2 separate regions of the Homo sapiens genome follow, and region 1 is linked to region 2. Evidence: promoter capture Hi-C in 16 types of primary human blood cells and fetal thymus (Javierre and others, 2016). All regions are on one chromosome and are shown on one strand. Each heading gives the region's core, a stretch centred on a gene start or on the middle of the fragment in contact. The rest is flanking DNA. Distances are from core to core; before and after follow the strand shown. Region 1 overlaps AVEN (apoptosis and caspase activation inhibitor). Region 2 holds the start of RYR3 (ryanodine receptor 3).

Evidence for each region. Contacts are between HindIII fragments. The CHiCAGO score rates a contact against its expected background, and 5 or more counts as called.
Region 1: a fragment that was not itself captured here is called in contact with the fragment with the promoter of RYR3 in region 2 in 1 of 17 cell types (megakaryocytes); the score reaches 7.9 in megakaryocytes.

Annotation. Positions count from the first base shown.
Region 1 is chr15:33,981,023-33,983,722 of GRCh38, forward strand. All of the region lies in intron 2 of AVEN (apoptosis and caspase activation inhibitor), which reads right to left. The region is part of intron 1 of CHRM5 (cholinergic receptor muscarinic 5); the gene reads left to right. Among named protein-coding and RNA genes, the nearest start is that of CHRM5, 14 kb to the left of the region's middle. The HindIII fragment of the contact is 1,826 bases long and covers 444-2,269 here.
Region 2 is chr15:33,309,641-33,312,340 of GRCh38, forward strand. RYR3 (ryanodine receptor 3) reads left to right here and starts at 1,327. Exons shown (of 104, transcript NM_001036.6): 1 at 1,327-1,456. The coding sequence starts at 1,406. RYR3-DT (RYR3 divergent transcript) reads right to left here and starts at 1,019. Exons shown (of 3, transcript NR_120327.1): 1 at 938-1,019. RefSeq lists enhancers at 1,548-2,059, 2,060-2,569. The HindIII fragment of the contact is 6,631 bases long and covers 1-2,700 here.

The DNA.
Region 1 (2,700 bases), core at 107-2,606, 670 kb after region 2:
GTGACTTGCTGAGGTCACACTGAGTTTTTATATAAACATACAATCACAACTTGATTCCAAGACTCCCCAGTTTTGGACAGCAACCCCTCTTAATTTTCTCTCAAAATTGTGGAGAGAAAATATCTGAATTAAGAAATCCAAAAGGTAATGTGAAAAATATTAACAGCGATGCCTTATCAATTTTCCTAAAAAATATGAAGCGGATGAATTTCATTTCACTTTCCGCATGCACAGTTTATAACACATAATTATCTTTTTGCTTGAGTTATTAGCAGTCAAGAAAAACTCATTTGCAAGTTAGCACTCCTGCGTACTAATATATTTTTTCCGGACTTTTCAGTTTAAATGAAACAAGTAGCAAGCATAAGAGTATTGCTCCCATTGTCATGACCAGATCAAAAGGCACCAAACTAAACATAACCAAGTTTTTTTAAGTAGCCAAAAGCTTTCTTCTTTTAACAGATACTAAAAATGGGGGGAAGGGGAGGAAACACAAGTTTCCCAAACAATGAAATGGCTCATTTTCTATACAATACACCAAAAGGGCCTACTGCTGCATAGCCAACTGTATGCATACCACAGGGGGCGAGAGTGCAATATAAAGAATAGTCATGGGTTTTGGAATCAGATTGAAAGGAATTCACACTGCAGTTCCATTACACACTAGTTATGTGATCCTTGTTACCTAACTTCTTTGAGCTTAATTTATCTCATCTATAAAATTGTCTAATACTAACACTGAAGGGCTATTTTGAATTTAAACAAAATGTATACAAAATACCAAATATCTAGCCAGGTACTCTATAAACAAGTTTTGTTTTTTTGTTTTTGAAACGGAGTCTCACTCTGTTGCCCAGGCTGGAGTGCAGTGGCGCGATCTTGGCTCACTCCAACCTCAGCTCACTGCAACCTCCACCTCCCAAGTTCAAGCAATCCTCCTGCCTCAGCCTCCCTAGTAGCTGGGACTACAGGTACATGCCACCATGCCCTGCTAATTTTTGTATTTTTTCTTTTTTTTTTTATTAGTAGAGACAAGATTTCACCACACTGGCCAGGCTGGTCTTGAACTCCTGACCTCAGATGATCCACCCGCCTCAGCCTCCCAAAGTGCTGGGATTACAGGCATGAACCACCACACCCAGCACTAAATAAGAGTTATTTTAACACATTTGTTAACACCTACATCTCTGCAGATGTAGAGCTGCATCTGCAGCTCTGCCCCCAACAAATTAAGCCAATCTAATTCAGAGGTTGGCCCTAATGCATTTTTCAGCAGTGCTGCCTTCTCAATTTCAAATTCCTATAAGATCACACCCTCTCCCATCCCAATCCAAACCCTAGTAATGACCCCAAGAATTACCAAATGCTATGCTCTGCCAAAAATAAAAATTAAAAAAGGAAAAAAATAAATGGAAGTATTTCTGATAATACTACTAAAATATTTTCTGGAGCAAAGCAATAACATATGGTTAAGAGGCCAAATCTCAGTCCCAATGGTCAAATTCAATTTGATTGACTGCTATTAACTCAGCACTGCCAAATCTTGATCCTTTTTTAAGATTTTACAATTTTTTTTAAATGCTATAAATGTTTACCCATATCTACCACTGCACTGACTCAAAATTTTTGAATTTAGTAATGGAAACAAGAATTTGTTTAGGTTATGGCATTTCCAAGAACAGCAGTAAAGAATGTAGTTATGTTGTACATCCAAATACCATGATGCTTTCCCCATGATGTTTTCCCCTTATGAATCGAAAAACACATCAACCACATTCTCTCTCTCTCTCTGGACCAGCCCATCTGGACAACACCCCTAAAGCAACAAAGGCTACCTTAGAATTATCCCAACTTCTGAGGGAGATCAGTCAAATGGTTAGCATGTCCTGGGATGACTGTTGGATCACTGGGACATGCCTCCTTCCTACCCATCAACTCCTGTTGGGATAATTTTTGAAAGACTGCACCTCTTAACTGCATGGACCATGACTGTCTCTTGCACAAGAAGCACAACATTAAGGCAGGTTTTTCTGAGCAACGGATTTTAGACGTGGATATATAAATCACTTGGGATATAGCTAACCATATACATATATGTCCATACTCTGTGTGTGTGTGTGTGTGTGTGTGTGTGTGTATGTGTGTGTGTATATATACACACGTGTGTGTATGTGTGTGTATATATATATATACATATATATACACACACATACACACACACACATATATATGGCTTCTTGGTAACCAACAAATGACAAAAGATAAAATAAGCTTTTTGTAACTGATTAATGAGGAAGAAATTAAAATCAATTATTGATGTTTCACCTTGTTTTACAAACGTACCCTCATTAACCCCATTCAGTTAACATAAACGCTTCCATTCTTCAAAGAAATTGACAGAAGGGTCAATGACACAAGAATAGCACCATTTATAATACAGATAGATCTGCAGTAAAGCATAAATAAAAAGGGCAAGTATTTAGTCATTATAACTTGACCTCTTGTCCAAGGCAATTCTTGGCTTCAGAGAGAACTAGTTCCCCTGAACTTTTAAGGAAAAACAGTATCTTTGCATAGCCTCAAAACATTATTTACTGTCATTGTTTTTAACACATGCCCAGAAATTCCTCCTTCCATGGATGAAGCTTACTCGCATCGTCTTGAGTGTGAGCAGGACTTAGTGACTCGCTGCTAGTGAAC
Region 2 (2,700 bases), core at 77-2,576:
CAAGAGATAGATGTCGTCCACAAGGAGGCGGTATATGAAGCTGTGAAATGGCTTGGGGTTTCCAGTGTCTTCCACCATCATCAGCCCAGAATTACCACCTTCCCAGTTGCACTTCCTCCTAAATCTACATCTCTGGTGCCTTTTGCCTTGAACAGTCTCTTGCCTTGGAGCTTCTCGGCCATCAAACAGAAGGGGGCACCCTGCACCGTCAGTCAAGGCAAGGACCAATCTGGCAATCCCCAACCATGGAAAAGGACCTAAGGCTGGGTGGGATGTAGGAGCCTTCCAGGACCTGGAAGGGAGCCTCCTGTAACTACTCTCTACTCCCTTTAGAGTCCACAGGGCTGGAACTCTAAATGCAGAATAAGGTTAGGGGTGGGCAGAGAGGAAGGGTTGTGATGCCACCTGACTTCCAAATTGAGGGTGGCACAGGATCCCCCAGAAGCTCCCTGGGGTACAGAAGTCACAGCAACCCTGGACAATCCAGGGGTTTGGTAAAGTGTACTTACCAATTTTGAAGAGGGGAAGGGGTTCTCTTAAGGTGTAGAAAGGACTATCCAGGGAGTTGCAAACTTTGTTGTAAGTGGACAATCACCCTCGCTCCTCACTGCACCGTCTTCTCCTTGCCCAACAATGCACGCGGGTCCTAGCAAGGTATTCGAGTCCAGATCTCTCTCTCTCTCTCTCTCTCTCTCTCTGTCTCTGTCTCTCTCTCTTTCCTCTCTCTGTCTCTCTGTCTCTGTCTCTCTCTTTCCTCTCTCTCTCTCTCTGTCTCTGTCTCTCTCTTTCCTCTCTCTCTCTCTCTATCTCTGTCACACACACACACACACACACACACACACACACACACACACAGGCAAAGTGGGCAAAGCGGGCAAAGCGAGCAAAGCGAGAGGGTTGGTACCCAGTCTGGGCGCGCTGGAGCTAAGCAACTGGCCTTTGTTTGTGAATTGGAGCAGTTTAGGGGACATCCTCCGGTCGCCGCGGGGCGCGCGCCTCCGCTGAGTGTGCGGTGCGGTACCCAGCGGTGCGGGGGAGGCTCCACCGCGCCAGCCCAGGGCCCCCGCACCGCCCCCGCCAGCTCGACGCGCCCAGCGTTGCGCTCTCCACGGAGCGGGCGGCCGCAGCGCACTTGGCTGGGGCGAGAGGCGAGAGGGGTGGGCGGACTGCTTGGTTGGCGTTGGCGCTCTGCAGTGCAGTGGAGTGTTAGCCCAGCTCCCTATATGGTCGGGGATTAGCTTGGCGCTGCTGAGGCTGAGGCTGAGCCAGGAGCTGGAGGAGGAGGTGGAGGACGAGGACGAAAAGGAGGAGGAGAAAGAGCGCAGCAGCAGTCAGCGCACGCCGAGCGGCTGCCGGGGGAAGCAGAGGCGCCGGAGGCTGGGGCACCGCCGACGCCTCGGGAGCCATGGCCGAAGGGGGAGAAGGAGGCGAGGACGAGATCCAGTTTCTGAGGACTGTGAGTCTCCGCGGCGGGGGCGAGGCCGTGGGCAGGTGGGGAGGAGCGCGGAGCGCGGCGAGGAGGGGCTGGCTGCGCTGCGCCGCGGTGCCGGGTGCCCGGTGCCGGGCGCTTTCTCCGCACCCGCGGGCTGCAGAGGCGGACCGGCCACCTACCCGCGGGGCCGCGAGGGGCTGCGTGGGAAGGGGCACCATCTCCTGCCTCTCCCTTGTTCCCCTACCGCCACCCCTGCCCCAGGCCCTCCACCTAGGACCGCTCGCTCTCCAGGCAACTTGCTACTTGGTCTGAAACCCTTGATGCCCAAACTTCAGCCGGGGTTTGTTCGCGGTTGTCCTGACCCATAAGATCGGCGTTGGAAGCCCTCGCCCCGGGGTCGGCCCTCTGACACCTCCATACTCCACCCCAGCCCCATTCCTCTTCCAGGGCGCCCCCACGCACAGGGGAACCTCCGGGAAGGAGCCAGCGGGGCAGGGGGGAGTGTGGGGAGCCGGGTCGGAGAAGCGGGCGCAGGCGCTTGGTCCTAGCCCTGGGATCGCTCGGAGGGGAATTCACCCAGCGCTGCCCCTCTCGTGTTAAGCCCCACGCCGGCAACTGCTGCTGGAGCCTGACTTGACTGACTGCCTGTCGTGTGTTCGAGAGCTGTGGCTTCTGCTCCTGGCTCCCGCGAGCCCCGCAGGACAGGGAAACCCCAGTCAGTGGCTCCGCGTCACTCAGGTCCCCTCCTTGACACCTGAGGGCGCTGCTCCGTCCCAGATTTGGGGGTGAGGGGGCGAAGTCTGTTGCAGCCACACCAGCCTTGCCCTGTAGGAGATAATACAAAGACTTTCAGGGTGGACGGCCACCCGGAGGGGTGGGGGCATTGGGGATGCATCCTAGCGCTGACTTCAGCCAAGTGACCTTGAGCAAGTCGCATAATCCGCCCTACTCAGCCTCAGTTTCCTCATGTGTAAAATAAAATGTAACCAGCGTTTCAGGGTGATAAGGATTAAACGTTATCGTGAATGTCATAATGTTTTGTAAACGGCAAATCGCTCTGTAAATCTTAGGTAATTTTATATGCGCTGCCTTGCTCTCAGGAATTAGAATGAAATTCTTTCTTTCCCTCTCTCACTTCCCTTTAAGGGTGCCCCCTTCTCCATGACCTGGTCTTCGAAGATCACAACTTACCTCTTGTCCATCTTTTGAACCACTCTCCTCCTGTTGAAGCGCTTCCTTCCAATTTACTTCAGTTTCTCTTCCAAACA